2 separate regions of the Homo sapiens genome follow, and region 2 is linked to region 1. The links are contacts of gene promoters, found by promoter capture Hi-C in blood cells and fetal thymus (Javierre and others, 2016). All regions are on one chromosome and are shown on one strand. Each heading gives the region's core, a stretch centred on a gene start or on the middle of the fragment in contact. The rest is flanking DNA. Distances are from core to core; before and after follow the strand shown. Region 1 holds the start of BRS3 (bombesin receptor subtype 3). Region 2 overlaps PHF6 (PHD finger protein 6).

Region 1 (4,076 bases), core at 950-3,449:
TTCTGCCTCTGCAAAATGAGAGCATTTGATTTGATCATGTCTAGGGTCACTTCCATCTCTGATATTCTGGGATTCTGGAATTCTAGAGATCTAAGACCCCCACTGCTCCAGTACTACTCCAATACAACTACTCTCTCTTGACCGCTCTTGATCAGAAGGAAGAGGGAGAAGAAAAAGTATTCCAGTGGCTGCAGCCTGCTGAAAGCATGAGTGAGATCTGGGAATTCAGATAATCTCAGAAATCACATGCAAGCATTACAGAACTTACAAAACAGTGCCATGTGGAGATCGGCTGTGGTGTGAATTGGAAGACATGGTTTGCTCCTTGGTAAATGATACACAGGAGTCCCAGGGAGATTTTATCATTAGTTTGCTGAGAACAAGATGTGAACCCTTTAAGGAGCCCTTTTCTGTAGAGACAATCTTAAAGAACCAGCCCAGTGTATGAAATTACTAGAGTGTATATATCTGAAAGCTTAGGAACTTGGGTTTATGCAAACACTCCCCCGCACCCCCATTCCCATCAAAGGCAGTTATTTAGCTGAGTGATTCAAGCTGTGGCAATAACTTATAAAGGGTGGGGGATAGGTGTGGTTTGGGGGACTTAAACCACATCTGTCTTCCACCCTTCATGAAATTAAGGAGGTAATTGATTCAATTCATCCACTTCACTTTCTCTGAAGAACTGATTGCCCCTACTAAGTATAAAGAACAACCTTTGTTGTTCCCCCTGTTCATTAGCTAGCCAAATACTTTGCTCTTTTTCACTTCGCTCCCCAGACTACTTTCTAATATGGTTATATTTATGAACACCTCACTACATGGTTTCTAGCTGAGAGATTATGCATTGCATTTGATAATTTCAGAGAATATTTCTTAGCAGCTTCAATTAGTAACTACACTCCAACTGCTAGCTTCCTGCTCCCAAACAGTGCCCCCACCACAAACACATACATATAAAGCACATGGTTATGTTTTCTGTAAAAAGTAGCTTCTCTGGCTGGTACTGAGGTGGTTGCCTTAAATGTGTACTTCTTTCAGTTGATGTAAACATCATCTACATGCCCATCATCCCTGGAGTCACCTATTTCATTTCTTCATCTGCAAATGATGATTTTCATTCTTAAAAGTTCTTTTGTGTCAGGAGCTTGAGCAGTGATGTTCTGTATTGTTTTGTTTTGGAATAAGGCAGGTTAGGTTCCCTTTAACCATTTCTAGAGAGAAAAATCCTAAACAGCCCCTTAAAAGAAAACATGGCATTAAAACAGACAGTCAAACAGTAAAAAGTGGTTTTATTAGGACATTTAGAGACAAAGCAACTGGTGCTGTGCCTGGATTTTTCATCTCTTAAAAGGTTGTTTTGGCTGGGTGTGGTGGCTCATGCCTGTAATCCCAGCACTTTGGGAGGCTGAGGCAGGCGGATTGCCTGAGGTCAGGAGTTCAAGACCAGCCTGGCCAACATGGTGAAACCCTGTCTCTACTAAAAATACAAAAATTAGCCAGGCATGGTGGCGGGCGCCTGTAATCCCAGCTACTCGGGAGACTGAGGCAGGAGAATTGCTTGAACCCAGGAGGTGGAGGTTGCAGTGAGCCAAGATCGAGCCACTGCACTCCAGCCTGGGTGACAGAGTGAGACTCCATCTCAAAAAAAAAAAAAAAATTAAAAAGGTTGTTTTGATAGTGTACAGCACAGCCTGGATAACTGCAAAGTTGGGGTTTACCACGTGACAGAGCTAGGTATTAAGCCCAAGTGACCTGAATGATCACTCCTTGGAGGTGACATAAACCCTGTCGAAGTGTAAATGATCTGTTGCTTCACCATCTCTCTGATATTAAATTTTGAGGAGTGGGTTCAAGGTTGTGCTTCAGGGGACACCTACACTTATTTATCATGTAAAACAAAATGCACTAGACTACCATGTGATTGCAGGGGGATAAATGGTTTTTTTCTTAAAAAAAATTGACAAAACCTATATAGACCATCCTGGGTAGATATGAAAACAGGGTGATTCTAATAATAAATAAGACGATTTAATAGGGTCTAGTTGGTCCCAAGATTCCCCAACAGGGAAGAATAAGCAACTGCAGAGCATTTCCCCAGCCCCCTCCCTCTCCTTATGACAGGACACGCCAATAAAACTCCACCTCCTACTCTTCAGTGCCAGATGGGTAAGCATTTAGCCAAGCATGCTGGGAGACACACAGAACTGAAGCAAAGGAGTATCTGGATGTCTTGGATTTTCTTCCCATTCTGTTCTGTTCTGTTCTCCTAATACCATCTCGTTACTAGACGTAGGCATTGGACGTGACAATCAACTGCATTTGAACTGAGAAGAAGAAATATTAAAGACACAGTCTTCAGAAGAAATGGCTCAAAGGCAGCCTCACTCACCTAATCAGACTTTAATTTCAATCACAAATGACACAGAATCATCAAGCTCTGTGGTTTCTAACGATAACACAAATAAAGGATGGAGCGGGGACAACTCTCCAGGAATAGAAGCATTGTGTGCCATCTATATTACTTATGCTGTGATCATTTCAGTGGGCATCCTTGGAAATGCTATTCTCATCAAAGTCTTTTTCAAGACCAAATCCATGCAAACAGTTCCAAATATTTTCATCACCAGCCTGGCTTTTGGAGATCTTTTACTTCTGCTAACTTGTGTGCCAGTGGATGCAACTCACTACCTTGCAGAAGGATGGCTGTTCGGAAGAATTGGTTGTAAGGTGCTCTCTTTCATCCGGCTCACTTCTGTTGGTGTGTCAGTGTTCACATTAACAATTCTCAGCGCTGACAGGTGAGTTTCTTTTCTCCATTATATTTGCCAGGATGTGAAATTGGGCAAAAAGAAAGGAAAGCTTGTACTTAGCATTTACTGGCTACTATTCTGCTTTTCTCACACTCTGTAACGTGGATGTGAGATTGGAAAATCTGGTGGCATTTAAAATAAAAGTTAGTGTAAGAATGTTAAAATTTCTGTGTTAGCACGGAGGAGAAGTTGAAATTGCATGCTTTATGGATAATTTATTCTTATTGTTTGCTCGGAAGTATACTGAACGGGGTTTTTATTTTTCTCCAGTTTATTAAGTAAAGCAAATTGTTCCAGGTGTAAAGGAAAAAAATTCATGCTTTATACATTAGTGCAGCCTAGTGGTGCAATATAGTCAACATGAAAACCAGGATAGGTGTGAAATTGACCACATATGTATAACTGTATATTGGAAGAGTGGTAAAAAGACACAGGCATCTAATTTATTTGAAATTCATCAAATTAGCTAATGGCAGAAAAACGGTGAGGTTTTCAACTCCCTGGTAACTTAGTGTAATGTCATCACGTAATTCTACTTGTTTTCTCTGTAGGCATTCAGTGACATTATCATTTCCAGAGAAATAAATTAATCTTGGTTGACTTTTAGAGCTCTGTGGAGAGAGCGTGTGAGATCCTCTTGCAGTCAGGGTGTTCAGATTCTGTGTTAGGATATTTTCAGTCCAAGTACTCTGTTTTTCTGTGTTCCTATTGTAGAATAACTGTAAAAACATGAAAAAATTTGAGGCTCCAAATGTTAAAAATGATGCTTTACAAAGCCTGCAAGATTCCTGTAAGTAATCGATGTTTGGCAGTACCAGAAGGAATAACTTCTTCAGATTCTAGAATCTGAGAGGAGGAAAACCTTTCCCTGTGTCTTTTGATGATTTTTGCTTTGACTGGTCTTATATTCTATTTGAGGGCAGACTGGCTTAATGACTGTAGATTTTAAGGTGGATTTGTTTGAATGAGGAGGTATCTCTGTACCGGCACAGGACTTCTGATTGCAACTTTGCCTCGCCCTAAATCTGTCCACTGATCAGGTTGGGCAACGAATTAACACTTACAAACGGGGAAGAAATTAATCCTCTCCTCTTTACCACATAAACCCTTGGAATTCTCTTCTAGGAAGGTTGATAACTGTTCACTCATGAAGAAAGGAAAATTAATTCAGTTTAACATCAGTCACTTATACAAAAGAAGTCTTTTAGGTACCTTAAGTGTATTACACTTAAGGTAATACACAGGTGGTGAATTACTCTCAGT
Region 2 (4,076 bases), core at 430-2,929, 2.1 Mb before region 1:
TAATACTTTTTGGTAACTGGGAATACTGTCAATTAATTTCATTATAAAATCCTCATTTATTTTTGCTAATGGAGGAGATCCAAAACCAATAATATAAACAAAATGTATTCTTGGTGTTGGGGGCTGTCTTGGTACTTATTTGAGCATAGGTGTGGATGAGGTGTTCTTCACAGACTAAATATAGCAAGCGGCATAGCAGTTTAGAGTACCCTCAGCTGGAAAAACCCATACACGAGAAAAGCTTGGACATAAAAATCTGAGCTCAGAAAATGTCTGTCTGAATCTTTCAGATACACAAAAAGAAACTTCAGAAACTCCAATAAGATAATTTATATTCCTCATCAATCATGATGCAGAAAGTCAGATAGAGTTGGAGTATGTGATATTCTGAGCAAGGTCAGGAGATGAGGTTAAGGCTTAGTTCATTTCCCTCCAATTTCCAAGACATCTGAAATAATCTATTCAGTAACTACTTAGATTTAGTCTGTTAAATCTAGTAAAAATTTAATGAGTACTTTTCAGTGGCCCTATTTTTTAGAAGCACCTGGAATTTAAGGTCCTAATCTGTTTTTCAAGCAACTTGTCACTTTTCAGTGACTGACAGCTTTCAGATTTCACTGTTTTCTGGCTTTCCATTTAAACCTTAAAAGTAGTGTTTAGTTTGTGTTCTTATGAGACCTCCTTCAAAATGCTGTATTTTTAAAAAATAGTAACTAAAGGATCAAACAGAAACAGTTATGAGTTCGTATTCCACCCTCCCATGAAGTGGCACTTTTTAAGGAATTTTTAACACATAAATTTAACAAATAAAAACTAAAACAGCAGTTAACCAGATAATTCAGAGCCACTCTGTTGTCTAGTTATTTGGATATGTGAGGTATTACTATAAATAAAGCAATGAAGCTGGAGTTAAGGAGCATTTTTGGGGCATCTCTGAAAACTTGCCCCTAACTGTACTGTCACTTTCTAGTTTTTATTGGAGGTAGTATTACCTGTTATTAAAACAAAAAGCCAAGCACCTGCGTAAAGTAAGCTGCTTTCACTTTGTTTTTGGCTCGTATCTCCTGTGCAAATATCCTCAGTACAGCGTTCCCTACTCCAAGAGCTTTTGGCATTTTTTTTTCTTTGCCTACAGGCTCAAGAACGTGACCTCTTTTTGTACCCTTCTTTGCCTTGTCTGTGCATTTGTAGCAGTTTTCTGGGAGCAGGTTTCTTTAGAACAGTTAACTGCTTGGCTGTGAGAATGTGTATCTATACACTGATAGTCAGTTACTGACAGACATATTAGATATAGGACAATGAAGCTGGACAAAGCTAAGTTGCAGACAGCCTTTCCTCCATCAGTTCCCTATGGCTCTATCTGACCATTAGGTTCCAGCTTTTCCCCAAGAGCCTTGTCGTAGAAGTTGGCAATCTCATTTTCATTTTACTCCCCTATAGTTACTGAGAAAGCAATATTTTTCCTTTTGCTCTTTAAGACTTCTTTTTGCAAACTGAATTTCAGTCCTGTCCTAGTTAAGTTGACTGAGGAGCAGGTATGCCCCAGCCTCTGGCTCCTACCCGACATTAGCTAAGTCTCAGTCCATTTAGTTCCTTGTGTCTCCTCTCATGCATGACTTAGTTCCTCTTTCATCAGTGGGTCAGCTCCTTGAGACTCTGCTTATGTTGCACAATTTAACCTTAAGTTAGTGTAGCTTCTAACAATACGATAGAGACGCCATGCAAATATCTGTAATAAGACAGGACCTCTTTTTCCAGTATCCCTAATTTGAAGCTGTTAATTAATTATTAAGGTTTACTAGGTCGACTAGGTAGCAAACTGAATAGGGGAGTGAGAGAAAAATTATTATTAATGAAGAAGTTTTCACCTCTATCTAAATCAAGAACTTGAAATCAGGATACAAGCAGGATAAGCTGAGAATTAACATGTATGCCTATGTTGGAGGCAGGAAATTAGCCCTCAACAGAATATCTGATACATGGGGCAGGCCTTTTTTGCGGGGAGTTGGGGAGAGGTCTTCCATTGTTTTTGAAAAACATGTTTCTGTCAGGTTAACTTTCATTTTCCCACGTTTGAGGGAGCCATGGATACTGTGCAAGCATGATGGTACATGGCAGCTGACAGTCATTCTGCTGAAGGCCCAGTAGGGACTGTGGTAAATTGGAGAGCAAATGTTTTGTGTAAAGGGAGATACTGGAGCCATTATTAGGGTATAACCAACCAGGTGCCTTGTGGTAGAGGGGTCCCCATTTTCCAGTTATTTCACCTTTTTCTAGGGAAGGCCTCTTTGTTTTATTTTTATTTCCTATAACATTTTTTAAGCTGGACTAGCCACCTATCTGGTTTCTCAGCTTCTTTAATTTTTCTTTTTATCTCATCTTAGTTTTCAACCTTGTTTCTAGCGGGGCTAATCTTTTCCCTGAAACATTCTTGCCACGTTCATTCTGTGCTCCTCCAACTGGATTGATCTCCCCAATTTCACCATTCCCAGTCCTAGATCAGAATGTTTAAATATTTTTAGAAGTAGCTGAAGATAATTATGTTAAATCTGCAGGTATTAGAAACATGAATGAGAAAAAATATGCCATAAGATTAAGATCTTCAATAATAGAGTATGTTTGCAATGACATACTTACTGAACAGTACTTTGTAAGGCACAGTGTTACTCTTCAAAAAAAAATTCTGTCTAGAATGAATTGATTGATAAAATTTATGTATTTATAATCAGCCATATAATGGAGTAAAATGATAAGAGCCAAAATGAACAGTATATATCTTGAGTCCCATAGGAGTTTAGAGAAAAAGGATTATTTTAGAGGTTGGAATATAGCATGGTAGACTAAGATAATTTTCCCTTTTTGTATTCATAGGTAAGCAAGCAAATGTAAACATTGTATTTTGGCTTTATTATGGATAATTTTTGCTATTTTGTTAGTACCTTGCCAGAAATTTGACTGCTTGTATGTGAATGCTGCATAAAATAGGTCCTGGGAATTCTAATTTAGCAAAATTCCAACTCCTAACCTTGTAAAGAAGTTTCCACTCCGAAAATATTTTTTATTGGTATGTCTTCCTCTTTCTTGTCTTTCTTGAGTGAAACTGACTATAAAAATAAAGTAAGCTTTAAAAAAATTATCTGTCCTGAGTTGCTGTAGTTAACTGGTTATTTGCAAAATGCATGTATTTCACCATAGCAGCTTAAAACCAGTTACTTTGGGCAGATTTAAATTTATAACCAGCCAAAAACTATTTTGGTATATTTTGGGTTTTTGGTTCCCATCTTATTCTCACCAGACTGAGAGACGGGTATTGAAAGCATTTACTAGAGTTTTCCTAATTTGTTTTTTAAATAATATTTTTGCATATAAAAGTACTTTTGCCCATTGTAGAAAAATCAAAATACAGGGCATTATGAAGAAAACCAGCCACCCAGAGATAGCCACTTAGCATTTTGCTGTTTTTACTTGCACCTGTTTTAAAGAATCTATGTTATAAACATAGTTGGGTTCATAATTCACATAGTTTTGTATCCTGCCTCATTTTTTTTAACTTAACATTACACATAGATCTTCCTGAGCCATTCCAATTTCTTTGAAAAGAGTGGCTGTAGAACATTCTCTCATATGTGTATACTATAATTTATTTAAACATTTTTCTTTTTCTTTTTTTCTTTTTTTTTTCTTTTTTTTTTTTTTGTGATGGAGTTTCACTCTTTTTGCCCAGGCTGGAGTGCAATGGTACAATCTCAGCTCACCGCAACCTTTACCTCCCAGGTTCAAGTGATTCTCCTGCCTCAGCCTCCCGAGTAGCTGGGATTACAGGCATGTGCCACCACACCTGGCTAGTTTTGTATTTTTAGTTGAGATGGTGTTTCTCCATGTTGGTCAGGCTGGTCTTGAACTCCTGACCTCAGGTGATGCGCCCGTCTCAGCCTCCCAAAGTGCTGGGATTACAGGCGTGAGCTGCTGTACCCGGACCTAAATATTTTTCAATTGTTGATAGGTGGTTTTACATTTTAGACTGTTCTAAATAATTCTACAATGAATGTGCTTGTGCATTAATTGCTTGAGTGTGA

Evidence for each region. Contacts are between HindIII fragments. The CHiCAGO score rates a contact against its expected background, and 5 or more counts as called.
Region 2: a contact is called between a fragment that was not itself captured here and the fragment with the promoter of BRS3 in region 1, in 1 of 17 cell types (neutrophils). The highest score is 5.2, in neutrophils.

The regions. Positions count from the first base shown.
Region 1 is chrX:136,485,748-136,489,823 of GRCh38, forward strand. BRS3 (bombesin receptor subtype 3) reads left to right here and starts at 2,200. Exons shown (of 3, transcript NM_001727.2): 1 at 2,200-2,801. The coding sequence starts at 2,368. The HindIII fragment of the contact is 2,387 bases long and covers 474-2,860 here.
Region 2 is chrX:134,387,296-134,391,371 of GRCh38, forward strand. All of the region lies in intron 3 of PHF6 (PHD finger protein 6), which reads left to right. Among named protein-coding and RNA genes, the nearest start is that of PHF6, 16 kb to the left of the region's middle. The HindIII fragment of the contact is 2,881 bases long and covers 240-3,120 here.